Regions from separate parts of the Homo sapiens genome. Here all the other regions are linked to region 1. The links are contacts of gene promoters, found by promoter capture Hi-C in human tissues and cell types (Jung and others, 2019). All regions are on one chromosome and are shown on one strand. Each heading gives the region's core, a stretch centred on a gene start or on the middle of the fragment in contact. The rest is flanking DNA. Distances are from core to core; before and after follow the strand shown.

Region 1 (3,189 bases), core at 120-2,619:
TAGAGCTCAGCTCCCAGCCTCCCCTCCCCCTCCAGCCCCCTTCAGCCCCCTTCCTGGAATCCCCCAGTGAGCATTAGTTGGGACAAGCGACCTTTTGACTAACAAAGGCGGTCACCAGAGGTTAAAAGGAACTCAACTAAACCAGGGATTAAGACTCGGATTCTGAGGGTGGTCTAGGGCACTCCCCTGGACCTGGGCCACTGGAGAAACAAAGACGCCAGGAGTGCCGGGCCTGGCTAGTGGCTCTGAGAAGCCACGGGTCAGCAGAGAGGTCACAGGTCATAGCTCTGCCGCCCAGCAGCTGCTCTGATCAGAGGACCTCGTGGCAGTCCCCCCAGGGACCAGGCCTTGAGGGTTAGAGGGGAGAAAAGCGCGGGCTGGGTGGGCACTGTCCCGGAGCTGTCAGTCCCAGAGTTGGGGCCTAAGGTCTGGGCCATCGATCAGATCTGCTCTTGGAAAACTCCATCCCCCTTGCCGTTGGTGGAAGTGACCAGTCCCCAGTCCCCGCTGAGCACCGAGCCCGGCAGAACCACTGCCTTGGGCCCTCTGTCCCGGGAGGGAGGCAGGGAGGAGGTGGCCAGGTCCGCATCCCCTCCATCCTCCCAGCTACGCCCCAAAAACCTCCAGGCTGCTCCCTGGCTTTCTCATTTCTTCCTCTCCAGCCCCTATCCCAGGACCGCTAGTGTCTCCTGGGGAAAAGACTGCTTCCCACCCTCCAGGCTCAAGTTTCACATCCGCAAGCTGGGTACAACAGCTCCTACCTGGGGGTGGAGGCGGGAAGCGGTGAGGAAAGATAGCCGAGGGCGCTTCCAGCGTCAAGTGCAAGGCGCCCTGGGCTCGGTAACCCCCAGCCAGCGTCCCCCAGCCCAGCTAGCGCCCCTGAACCCCCAGGGCCCGGGATGCGGCCCCCGGAGCCGGCTGGATTTGCTAGGACTGGGGTAGGACGGTGTGTTTGAGGGGTGGGGGAATCCGGTTTTGAAACAAGTCCCCAGGCCGGGGAGGAGATGAGGACCGGAGCTGGCCGTGGGGGAGGGGGGCGTCGCCGAGGCCTCGGCGCTGACAGTCCGGGGGCGCCGCGCAGGGCAACGCACGGACTCCGAGTCCCCGTGGTTCCGAAACTCGCAGGGAGCGCGAGGCCGAGGGGGTCGGGACCCTAAGCTGGGGCGGCGGACCCGGGACGCCCCTACCTCCGGCCGCCAGCAGCGCAAGGCCGCCGAGCAGCAGCAGCGGAAGCGGGACCCGGCGCGACGGCGCGGCGCGCTCCATGGGCGGCGGGCGACGGGCGGTGGGCGGCGGCGGACAAAGGCGCGGGCGCGGTCCTGGGGCAGCGGCGCGGGCTCCACGCTCCGGCCGAGCCTCGGCAGCCAACGCTGGGCCAGGGCCGCGCCGTTCAATTATCCCGCCCGGGAGGAGGGCGCGGCGGAGGCGGGGCCGCGGGTCTCCTGGTCCTCCCTCCCCGGCGCCCCCTGCCGGGACCCTCCCTCCCCGGACCCCGGCTGCGAGGGGCGCGCGCCCACGGCTGGGGGCGAGGGCCTGGATCCCAGACTTCCCCGGAGGGGGCACAGAGGGGGCGCCTTCGGGCCGGATGCCCCCAGTCCTATCCCCCAACACTCCGTGAAACCCGATCCCCTCCTCCCCCCACCCCCTCTCGAGGGGAGGGCTCGGGATCAAAGGTTATCCCCGCCCGACTCCGCGCGGAGGAGCGGGGACCCGGGCCTGCAGTCGGAGGCCCGGCTGCTGGGGGGCACTGGGGCAGGCCTTACCGCCAACCCCGCACCCTCGGCCGGGAGGCTGCAGGTCGGTGGCTAACCCCAGGCGTGTCCCGGGATGGGACCCGACTCTGCCCTCAGAGACAGGGACAGTCGGGCCAGGCCAACAAACAACCAAAATCCCAACGTGTGCTGGGCTCACCCGGGACACCAGGGCCGGAGGGAGAGACCCGGGAAGTCACCGAGGCTGCAGGGGAGGCAGCTTTGGCGCTGGGCCTGCGGGAGCCTCTTGTATAGGAATTCATAGCTACCGGGGTTACTGAGGATGAGTTAGGCTTTGGAACCACAAGTAGATTTATTTTCCAAAGAAGAAGAATAAAATGGTGCAGGTGAAGATGCGGAGGAACTGGATGAGACGCATAGGAACGCCACTGGGCAGCTCAAAGCGGTGTTCCTGTGAGTTCACCATGGACCCCTTGAGCCACCGACGCCCCGCCCAGCCTTACACTCAGCAGAAACGCATACAACATGTGCTCCAAAAGACAGAAAGACATGTAGCCGCACATTCATAATTCCTCCAATTGGGAAGCCTAGCGTCATCAAGGCAGATGAATATCGTGGAGTATTCGGGCTTAGGAGCACGACAAACGGAACAGGAGTGAATGATCCGCAACTCACATAACGGGTAAATCTCACAGACGTAAGTCAGAGTAATAGAGTCAGCCACAAAGGAACACTCGCTGCATGATTCCATTTACATAAAAGGCAAGAACAGGCCGGTGGCGGTGGCTCACACCTGTAATCCCAGCACTTTGGGAGGATGAAGTGGGCGGATTGCCTGAGGTCAGGAGTTCGAAACCAGCCTGGCCAACATGGTGAAACCCTGTCTCTACTAAAAATAAAAATAAAAATAAATTAGCCAGGCATGGTGGTGCACACCTGTAGTCCCAGCTACTCGGGAGGCTGAGGCAGGAGAATCGCCTGAACCCGGGAGACGGAGGTTGCAGTGAGCCGAGATCTCACCACTGCACTCCAGCCTGGGCGGCGGAGTGAGACTCCGTCTCAAAAAAAAAAAAAAAAAAAAAAAAAGGCAAGAACAGTTCAGAGGTCAGGAGAGTGGTGATCCTGGAGTGGGAGCGTGCTGGGCTTTCGGGGGCTGGTTAGGTTCAGCTTTCTTACTCTGGGTATTGGTTACAAGGTTGGGCTCAGTTTGTGAGAATTTATTGAGCTGTTCATTTATGGTACGTGCCCTTTTCTGAATACATGTTGTTTCTTTCTGTTTTTTTGAGATGGTGTTTTGCTTTTGTTGCCCAGGCTGGAGTGCAGTGGCGCAATCTCAGCCCACTGCAACCTCCACCTCCCGGGTTCAAGCGATTCTCCTGCCTCAGCCTCCTGAGTAGCTGGGACTACAGGCATGCACCACCACGCCTGGCAAATTTTGTATTTTTAGTAGAGACGGGGTTTCTCCGTGTTGGTCAGG
Region 2 (3,523 bases), core at 28-2,527, 190 kb after region 1:
GAATGACCCTGGCAAACTTCTCCTCTAGCTCAACCTTCAAGAATCAGCTCACCTGCTGCTTAGCATCTCCTCCCCACGACTCCTAAGACGCCCTCCTTAACACCCACCCCTTCCCAGAATCCCATGCCCACCCAGATGGGTTCCCTGCCAGCGACGACACAGCTTCCTCCAGATAAAAACGACCTACTTGTCTTATGCCCCAGGTCCCTAGGCCCTGACAGCAGGGACCGTCTCATCTCTATTTCCAGTGTCAATTCCTGGAGCCTATCAGGCATTCAAAAACAAAATGTTAGTTCCTTGAATGAAAAAATTAAGGAGGAGACAACCTAAAAGCGTCCCCATGTGCCCTAACTCGCTCCCTCCCCGGTTCGGCCGCCCTCGGCCACCTCAGGTCTCCTGCTCTATAGACTGTCCTGTGGGGCCACCTGAGTCTCAGCAGAACATTAAAACTTAAACCCGGCCCTGCACCTGCAGGCGCGGGGACCACAGCTTAGGAGGTGGTCGTCGGGCGCGCTGTTACCGTCTTAAGTTATCACCAGACCTGGGAACACTTCCACCCACGCCCCGCAGGTCCAGGGACCTCAAGTTGGAGAAACCTAGCCCTGAGATCAGGTCGGAGAGGGAGCCTCAGGGTGGGCGGCACGGGGACCCGGGGTCTCGCGGGGCTAAGGACACTGGGAACCACGGCTCCCCACAGGAAGATGCCCCGGGCCTGGGGGCTTCTGAGGAGGTTGCTGGAAGCAAGTCCCAAGGGAACCTCGAGAGTTTCCGGAACCAACAGTTCTCAGGGCCCACTAGCGGCCGGGGTCCTCAGGGGGTCTCGGAGTCCAGAGAAAATCTTGGAGTTTCGGGGTTCGCGGGCCTGGAGGGGCAGGGCGGATCCTGAGGGGGTCTCGGGGGCAGGGGCTCCAGGGGAAGAGCTGAGAGGGAGTCCTGGGGTGGCCCCGGGGCCGGGGCGGATCCTGAGGATCTCGGGGTCCCCAGGGGCTCCGGATGCAGGGACCGCGGGCCCGCCCCGCCCCCTCACCTGCGGCGCCTCCGAGACGCTGGTCCCAGCTCGCGCTGCCACCTCTTCGCCTCCGCAGCCGGCTACGCCTCCGGGGTCTCTCGGCGGCCGCGCACCCCTGACGCTGGGCGGGGCAAGGGGATGGTTCTCGGGGAGGGGACTGCGCAGGCACGCGGGCTAGAAGCGAGAGCGAGAGCCGGAGTCGGAGCCAGAGCGGACGCCACGCCGCCTCCAGGCGCCCCTCCGCGTTAGCCGGCAGCGGCGCCGCCGCAAACCCTTCCCCCGCGCGCCCGCCCCAGCCGCGTGAACGTTCCGTCCCGAAACCAACGGCCCCGCGGTCCCCGGAGGCCCCGCCCCGGGGAAGGGCGAAGCCAGGACGCGCGCCCCGCCCCGCCCCGCCGCCAGATCCTCTGGCACCGCCCACCTCGGTGACCACGGTCCCGCCCACCGGGGAGGCCACGCCCCCGGGGTCTCCAGCGCAGGCGCGGTCGGATGTGCGGGGGAGGGCTTGCGCTGGGGAGCGCTTGGGCCTAGAGTCCGCGTCCTAGCCCTACCTGGCCCGGCGAGCCGCGCGTCCCGTTTCCTCATTTGCAGAAAGGGGGCGGGAGCACTTTGCAGGGACGTGGCGAGCATCAAGTGCGATCGGAAGCGCTCCTTTGCAACTGCATCCTGCACCACACTTAGGCACAGCTTCTGTCCCCAACCCAGACCTGAGGCTGGTCTCCGTCCCCCAGCAGACTCCTGCCCGCTTAAATTGGCCAGTCACCAGCCCTACCTTCTTTCTTTTTCAGAGTACTTGTCACTCTCCGAAATTAGGTACGCTTGTGACTGGCTCCCACTTCCCCTGAGAGCCGGTACCTTGTCCGTCTTGTCCACTGGGGGTTCCCAGAAGCCAGCACGGCGCTGGGCACACCATGGCCGCCCACATGTTTGTGCGTGCGTGAGTGTCTTCCCCGCGCTCTTCCCTCATCAAGAAATACTCTTCCCCGAGGCTGAGAATTTCTCCTAAAAATACAAGAAATACTCTTCCCCAGCTTAGGTTCGATCCGGCGAGGCCCCCTGACTCCTCGCGCATCCCTGTCGCAGGTGCCGCGTCCGTAAAGGGTGTGATCCTAGCACCTACCTTGTGGGTATTGCGAGGACTGAGATTGTGCGTGGGTGGGCTGGGCACGGGCCCCCTAGCGATCTTATTACTCCTCCTTTGTCTGCCACTGAAGTCTTTTACCTAAACAAGACCCAATCCACTTCCTCTTCCCAGCCTGCCCTGCCCAACCTGGAGTCATTTATTACTTCCTGTCTCCTTGGCACCTTTTTTTCCTGCCTGATTTTAAAGTTGGCTGTTAATATCTCCCCCTACCCTAGCCCACCAGAAAGCTCTCATTTTGTGACAGAAGGTAGTGTTGTGTTAGCGGCCTGTGAAATTTTAGGGGGGGCCAGAGCCCAGAAAACAGTGGGAGCAGTGACTCTGGGATGAAGAGGGCAGCCCCTGGGTGCTCTGTATGTGGGGTCAGGCACTCCCTGAGCACTTTGCATGCGTTCCTTCATGGTGTTCTTGGAACAACCCTATGAGGAAGGCGTCTTCATTGTTATTCCAGTTTAACAAGGGGAAGCTCAGGCCCAAGAGGTTGTGTAGTTCCATGCCTCAGCCCACACATGTAACCACCACTGCATACAGCTCCCCAACCCCTGGAGGTGCGACTTAAATGCAAAAAAAGGCCGGTGGCTCACGCCTGTAATCTCAGCACTTTGGGAGGCTGAGGCAGGTGGATCACCTGAAGTCAGCAGTTCCAGACCAGCCTGGGCAACCTGGCAAAACCTCATCTCTACTGAAAATACAAAAATTAGCCGGGCGTGGTGGCGGACACCTGTAATCCCAGCTACTCGGGAGGCTGAGGCAGGAGAATCACTTGAACCCGGGTGGCAGAGGCAGCAGTGAGCTGAGATCATGCCACTTCACTCCAGCCCGGGCAACAGAGCGAGACTCTGTCTCAAAAAAAATTTTTTTTAATGCAAAAGATATATAATTCAGTTCATGAACACCTGCTCCTGTACTGGGTGCTGAAGCCCGAGACCTGTGGGAGATGTGGCCCCTTCCCTCATGGAGCTCCCAGGCCCCAGCAAGGATTTTGATTAACAGGACCTTATGGGCTGGGTGCTGCCGAGGTCAGTCAGACCCAAGACTCTGCGCAGGGCATCCTCTGAGGGGTGGTGGGACCAAAGCAATCGTAACCTCCAGCCACATTCAGCACCATCTGAGATAGGCTGGGAGCCTCAGCCCCTCCACCCAAAAACTCAGCCAGTCAGCCTTACAAGAGCAAGGACAGCAGGAAGGATGCCTCAGGAACAAGGGCTCCCCTTTTCCCCACATCTGAGAGAAACACAGCTTTTTCTCAGGTTGTGGAAAATTACTGAGAGACACTGCCCCCTGGGCACCTTGACCATTCTGAGTAGATAAGGGGGCAGATATGGCAGGTTGGCAAGAGGTCAGCGTGGTGCTGATGTGTGGGTGTGACACAT
Region 3 (3,461 bases), core at 753-3,252, 140 kb before region 1:
TAGCCTCTCCCCGTGGGCCCTGCCAAGGCCTCCCTCCAATGCAATGCGAGTTGCCACTGCCCTCAGGCCCTCTCCAAGTTAGAACCCCACACCCAGCCCACATTTACCCTGTGCGTGGACACACACCTCCTTGCTTTCTTTACCTTTATGATGAGCGCAGTGATTGGTTTTGAACACGTTTCCTCGTCAGGGTTGTGTATGTTGTAAAGCTGTCTTGTGGCCGGGCGCGGTGTGGTGTAGGGTGTTAAAGTGGGGAGATACTCGCTCACAACCTGGAGCGTGAGAGGGCGACAGGCAGGGGACCGCAGAAGGGAAGGGGGGCGCATTGCGGAGGCGGGGGCGGGGCGGAAAGAGGCCAGGGGCCGTTCAGCAGGTTAGCATGGAGCAGGGTGAGACAGTGCTGGAGGAGGAAACGCGCCCGGCGAGGAGCCGCCGCGTCCCGGCCCTGCCAGCCGCCATTCGAGGCCGCGCACCGCCACCTGCTGGGCGCCCGGGGAGGTGCCGCCTAGCCGCACGTGGGTCCCAGGGCAGGCGCCACGCAGCAGCGGAGTCCACCTGGGCAGGTGCGGATCCCCGGGCTCGCCTCCCCACCTCGGAGGGAAGAGCCTGACTGAGGACTCTGGGTCCCAGTCCCAGCTCAGACACCGGCTGAGAGGCTTCCGTGACGGTCAGGTCGGGAGAGGGCTCTCCTGCCTGCCGCACGTCCTGTGAGTCCGTTTGTTCCTCTGCCGGCCCCAGCCCCACCGCAAGCCCCCTGCCTCCGCTGCTCTGCCCACCCTCCCTGGGCACTGGAGTGGGCCCTGAGGAACGGCAGAGGCCCATCTGCAAAGCTCTGAATACCTCTCCCAACCGCAGATTAAATGGCACCCACGGAGGCCAAGCTCTCAGCAAGCACCGCGCTTGACTGCTCCTCTGGGTGCCCAGAAGACCATCGGTCGGTCTGTTCTTCCGAGGAAAGAGGCCCGGACCTTGATTCAGGATCCTCGCCCGGTCTAAACATACACACTTTGGGGACTGGGAGCTGAGCGGTTCTTCTAGAAAGGTCTCCTTGTTCCTTAGTCAAAATACAGGTTTGCCCCGTTTGTTCTTGCTCAGCCTTCTGAAACAATCAGAATAACTTTTTTCGTACGATGCCTACAAACAGCTTTAATGTTCCCTGTAAATATTCATTCCGAGCTAAGTGTGCCCAACTTCCTGCATTCTTTAGAGCAGTGGACAATTTCAACCGAGGACGATTTTGCCCTGCAGGGGACATTTGGCAATGTCTGGAGAACTTTTGGTGATCTACCCGGAGGAGGGAGACCACTCCTGGCGTCTGGTGGGGAGAGGCCCCCGTGCTGCTAAGCATCCTAAGGTACATGGCGTAGCACCTCCATCCCGCCACACGCACAACAAAGAATTGTCCCACCCAAAAGTCAACAGTGCTGAGGTTGAGAAGTCCTGCTTGAGAGTTCTGAGGTTTTTTTGGTTTTTTTGTTTGTTTTTGAGACGGAATCTCGCTCTATCACCCAGGCCGGAGTGCAGTGGTGCAATCTCAGCTCACTGCAACCTGTGCCTCCCAGGTTCAGGCAATTCTCCTGTCTCGGCCTCCCGAGCAGCTGGGATTACGGGCATGCGCCACCACCCCCGGCTAATTTTTGTATTTTTAGTAGAGTGGGGGTTTCACCATGTTGGCCAGGCTGGTCTCGAACTCCTGGGCTCAAGTGATCTGCCCACCTCGGCCTCCCAAAGCGCTGGGATTACAGGCTTGAGCCATCGCAACCGGCCTCTGCTTGAGAGTTCTGAGTCTTCTCAAGGTTCTGGTCCCTTCTGTAGATACTCTTCATGCATTCATGTTTCTATCGCCACGGGGTACCAACTCCAGGCCAGCTCCCACCAGCCTGGACATCGTAAGTTCTAGACACCAGGCGTCTCTCAGTGGAGCCTAACAATTACATCAGCCTTCTTAGCAATGCTTTGCTCATATGATCAGTATATCTTTTTTTTTTTTTTCCGAGATGGAGTCTCACTCTGTCACCCAGGCTAGAGTGCAGTGGCGGGATCTCAGCTCACTGCAACCTTTGCTTCCCAGGTTCAAGTGATTCTCCTGCCTCAGCCTCCCGAGTAGCTAGGATTACAGGCGCATCCCTCCATGCCTGGCTAATTTTTTGTATTTTTAGTAGAGACAAGGTTTCACCATGCTGGCCAGGCTGGTCTCAAACTCCTGACCTCGTGATCTGCCCCCTCCTCGGCCTCCCAAAGTGCTGGGATTACAGGCGTGAGCCACCGCGCCCGGCCGATCTGTATGTCTTTAATCAGTGTTACGGGCCAGGTGCGGTGGCTCATGCCTGGAATCCTAACATTTTAGGAGGCCAAGGTGGGCAGATTGCTTGAGCCCAGGAGTTCAAGAGCAGCTTGCACAACATGGTGAAACCCCATCTCTATGAAAAATTAGCTGGGCATGGTGATGTACACCTGTAGTCCCAGCTACTTGGGCGGCTAAGGTGGGAGGATCGCTTGAGCCTGGGAGGTCAAGGTCGCAGTGAGTCATGATAGCGCCACTGCACTCCAGCCTGGGCGACAGAGCGAGACCTGTCTCAAAAAAAAAAAAAAAAAAAAAAAAAAAAATCAGTGTTTTGAACAGAGAACTTAGAGGCTTAAATATGCATGTGATTAAATAAAAGACATATATTACCTAGAAAAAACAGGTATTATTCTCACACAGAAAAACGTTGGGTAAAATAAACATTCCTATTGGATGGATTCAATTTTAAATGATTCCTCTTATACAAATTTTGTTTCAACCATTCCTCTTAACAAAGAAATGGCGAAGCCCTCCTAAAGCCCTCCAGAACAGACTGAACAAAGGAAAAAAGATGCTTGTCAACTCAAATATGAAAGGCCTGCTCCAAGCTCCCCTAATTATATCTTGGAAGGGAAGCTTTGTCCTATTGACATTCGGGATCATTTTTCACAAGCTCAGGTTACTCCCTTGAAGATTTTTAGGAAGTTTCATGATATGGAGACATTGTTGAAAAATTGGCTGCTTGACTTCTGCCAGCAATCAGATACAGAGATCAAATCTGTTTCTGCCCACTTAGCTTAGAGCATTTCTGGTTATCTTGGGCAAAATGAGTTTGCAACTTTTAACTCAGACTTCTAAGAAGTCAGACGGTTTCACCCACTTTTTGTGTGTGTGGTTTTTTTTTTTACAAAGGATCTCTGAGGAAACTTGGCTGAAGGTGTGGGTTGATCTCTAATATCTGACATATTCTGCATTTGTAAATACCAGAGTACTTAAGAAGCAACAAAAATGGTTTTTATTTTATAAAGTGGAAGAAAAGATCCGAGGAAATACAACTCCTTTCATCAGACCCTTAGATCTTTCCTTTAAAACATAAAATTCTAAAGTAAATTGTGGGTTACTCTTGCCCTGTCCTGAATTCTAAGAGTTTGGCTGCTTAAAATATCATTAAAACATA
Region 4 (3,450 bases), core at 232-2,731, 170 kb after region 1:
GGCCAGGGCCTTACCTCACAAGGCAGCCCAGACAACACAGGCAGCAGTGTTAGTTATGAATAACATAAGCAGACACACAAAGGTCACAAGTATGTCACAAAAGAAATATCAAGAGTCACATGAAACTACGCTCAACCTTTAGTAACACAAGAAATCAATGTTGAAAATTTCAGCTATCAAATGGACAAGGTGTATTTCATTTTGTTTCTTAATAACACCATGTGTTGGCAAGATACAGGAAATGGATACTCCCACACTCAGCCACTACCGGGAGTGTAACTGGTGCTCCTTCTGGAAAACAATTTGGTAATTTACATCATCAGTCTTTAAAACATTCATACCTTTTGACCATAAAACTCTTCTAGGAATTCATCTTGAAAACAGGACATAAAAGTATGAGGACCCTGTAGTGTTATTTATAACTGTAAATATATGCTAACTGATATAGTCTGGACATTTGTCCCCACGAAAATCTCATGCTGAACTGTGATCCCCAGTGCTGGAGGTGGGGCCTGGTGGGAGGTGCTTGGATCACGGGGCAGGATCATCCCTCATGGCTTCGTGCCATCTTCGTGACAGTGACTTCTTGAGAAATCTGGTCATTTAAAAGCATGTGGCACCACCCCCCTGCCACTCTCTCTGTTGCCATGTGGCATGCCTGCTCCCACTCTGCCTTCTGCCACTATTGGAAACTTCCTGAGGCCTCCCCGGAAGCAGATGCTGCTATGCTTCCTAGACAGCTGTGGAACCGTGAGCCAATTACAGCTCTTTTCTTTATATATTACCCAGTCTCAGGTATTTCTTTTTTTTTTTCTTTTGTTTTTTGAGACAGGGTCTCACTCTCTTGCCCAGGCTGGAGTACAGTGATCTCAGCTCACTGCAACCATCTCCCTCCCAGTTCCAGCTATTCTCCTGCCTCAGCCTCCCAAGTTGCCAGTGTGCCACTTTCCATTATTACTTTTTTTTTTTTAAGAGAAAGGGTCTTACTCTGTCACCCAGGCTGGAATAAGTGGCATGATCATAGCTCATTTCAGTCTGGAACTCCTGGGCTCAAGCAATCCTCCCACCTCGGCCTCCCCAGTAGCGGGGACTGCAGGCAGGCGCCACCATGCCTGGCTACTTTATTAGTAATTCACTGCTACAAAGTGAGAGCAGCTCCCAGGGCACAGAACTCCCCACACCTGCAGGCTGCCCGCAGCCCCAGCCCACACCTTGGTCTTGTCCTTCAAGTCCAGGGACTCCATGGGCTTGTTCTGCCGCCGGCCAAAGGCCTCCCGCACCCCCAGCCCATACCTTGGTCTTGTCCTTCAAGTCCAGGGACTCCATGGGCTTGTTCTGCCGCCGGCCAAAGACCTCCCGCACCCCCAGCCCATACCTTGGTCTTGTCCTTCAAGTCCAGGGACTCCATGGGCTTGTTCTGCCGCCGGCCAAAGACCTCCCGCACCCCCAGCCCATACCTTGGTCTTGTCCTTCAAGTCCAGGGACTCCATGGGCTTGTTCTGCCGCCGGCCAAAGGCCTCCCGCACCCCCAGCCCATACCTTGGTCTTGTCCTTCAAGTCCAGGGACTCCATGGGCTTGTTCTGCCGCCGGCCAAAGGCCTCCAGCAGGTTGTCATAGTTGGTGGTCAGGACCATGGCGCCCCTGTCCATCAGGCTGAGGATCGACTGCAGCACCACAGGACTCCGGATGTGCTGCTCCAGGTCGTCAAACACCTCCATCAGGCAGTCCTGGAAGAAGCTGGGCTTGGCATCGCCTGTGCGCTACAAAAAGGTGGAACGACAGTTACCAAAACATCAGCTCTTAACAACTACTGAGCACCTAAGCAGGCCATTTTCTGGGTGCCAGAGATACAGCGGCTGAAAACAAAGAAAATCTGGCTTCACAGCGTGCGCCGCAACCCCAGAGCAGGGGGACAGGGGATGCTCACGTGTAGCACGCCACCGGTGACGCTGCCACAGGAAAGCACGGCAGAGACGGGGGCAGGCGCTGTCAGGGGAGGTGGACAGGACCAAGACACTAGGCAAGCCTCTCTGAGAAGAGGGCATCTGAACAGGGGCCTGAGGAGGTGAGGGCTCGTGGAGAATGTTCTAAGCAGAGGGAAGAGCAAGGGCCACAGCACTGAGGTCACGGCTCAGGTACGTCCCAGGTCAGCAAGAGGCCACGGAGGCAGGAGAGGAGTGAGGGGAAGAGTCGGCAGCAGAAGCAGATGACCTGGGCCTTGAGGACCACTGTAAAGACTCTGGCTTTCCCTGAGCGCTGCACAGTCCCAGTTTTCTCTTTCTCGGTGGTAATGAAACAGCGTGTCTTCGTGGCACCTTCAATGAGGCGGGAGGCAGTGTTTCTTTTTTCTTTTTCTTTTTTTGAGATAGGGCCTTGCTCTGTCATCCAGGCTGGAGCACAGTGGTGCCAGGATAGCTCACTGCAGCCTCCAACTCCTGGGCCCAAGCGAGCTTGCCACCTAAGCCTCCCAAGTAGCTAGGGCTACAGGTGCCACCACCACACCCAACTCATTATATTTTTTAAAAATTTTTTTAATTTAATTTTTTATATTATTTTATTTCATTTTTCATTTTATTATTTTATTTTTTGAGACAGAGTCTCACTCTGTCACCCAGGCTGGAGTGCAGTGAGTGGCACGATCACGGCCCTCTGCAGCCTTGATCTCCCAGGCTCAAGTGATCCTCCAACCTCAGCCTCCCAAGTAGCTGGGACTATAGGTGCACACACACCATAACACCTAGTTAATTTTTTAACTTTTTTTTTTTTTTTTTTTTTTTGAGACAGAGTCTTGCTCTGTCACCCAGGATGAAATGCAGTGGCGTGATCTTGGCTCACTGCAACCTCCCCTCCTGGTTCAAGCAATTCTCCTGCCTCAGCCTCCCAAGTTGCTGGGACTACAGGTGCGCACCACCACACCCAGCTAATTTTTGTATTTTTAGTAGAGATGGGGTTTCACCATGTTGGCCAGGCTGGTCTCAAACTCCTGACCTCAGGTGATCCACCTGCCTCAGCCTCCCAAAGTGCTGGGATTACAGGCGTGAGCCACTATACCCGGCCTAAATTTTTTTTTATTTTTTGTAGAGACGAGGTCTCGCTATGTTGCCCAGGCTTATCTTGAACTCCTGCCCTCAAGTGATCTGCCCACCTTGGCCTCCCAAAGTGCTGGGATTACAGGCATGAGCCAGCACACCTGGCCCGTAGTGCCGCATATACTCTGAGAGACACAAGAGGATCAGGACTGAGGCCTGGCCTCCGGAAGCAGCCTCAGTGTTTCACCGGTGGCCTTGACAGGAGCTGTCTCCAAGGGGCCTTGACAGCCAAAGCCTGGCTGGGATGGCTTCAAGAGAAAAAGGAAGGGCTGGTGACAGCAGATGCAGCAACCATGCTGCAGAGCTTTGCTGGGAGGGGACAGAGAGGCGGGGTGGGGGCGGGTTCAGGAGGACACAGGG

Evidence for each region. The method cuts DNA at HindIII sites, captures the fragments that hold promoters and counts their contacts. A contact is called where the count stands out against the background at its distance.
Region 2: a contact is called between the fragment with the promoter of FAM118A here and the fragment with the promoter of FBLN1 in region 1, in 2 of the 25 tissues and cell types used here (IMR-90 fibroblasts and mesendoderm cells).
Region 3: a contact is called between a fragment that was not itself captured here and the fragment with the promoter of FBLN1 in region 1, in 2 of the 25 tissues and cell types used here (dorsolateral prefrontal cortex and pancreas).
Region 4: a contact is called between a fragment that was not itself captured here and the fragment with the promoter of FBLN1 in region 1, in 1 of the 25 tissues and cell types used here (mesendoderm cells).

The regions. Positions count from the first base shown.
Region 1 is chr22:45,501,063-45,504,251 of GRCh38, reverse strand. FBLN1 (fibulin 1) reads right to left here and starts at 1,369. Exons shown (of 17, transcript NM_006486.3): 1 at 1,188-1,369. The coding sequence starts at 1,266. RefSeq lists enhancers at 1-141, 142-755. The HindIII fragment of the contact is 10,534 bases long and covers 1-3,189 here.
Region 2 is chr22:45,307,688-45,311,210 of GRCh38, reverse strand. It overlaps FAM118A (family with sequence similarity 118 member A), which reads right to left and starts at 1,277. Exons shown (of 9, transcript NM_017911.4): 1 at 1,028-1,277. RefSeq lists an enhancer at 1-215 and a silencer at 932-1,611. The HindIII fragment of the contact is 15,582 bases long and covers 1-3,523 here.
Region 3 is chr22:45,642,791-45,646,251 of GRCh38, reverse strand. The region is part of intron 1 of LOC105373069 (a long non-coding RNA gene); the gene reads right to left. Among named protein-coding and RNA genes, the nearest start is that of ATXN10, 27 kb to the left of the region's middle. RefSeq lists silencers at 215-284, 295-584. The HindIII fragment of the contact is 8,115 bases long and covers 1-3,461 here.
Region 4 is chr22:45,326,153-45,329,602 of GRCh38, reverse strand. FAM118A (family with sequence similarity 118 member A) reads right to left here. Exons shown (of 9, transcript NM_017911.4): 4 at 1,540-1,761. Among named protein-coding and RNA genes, the nearest start is that of FAM118A, 18 kb to the right of the region's middle. The HindIII fragment of the contact is 9,189 bases long and covers 1-3,450 here.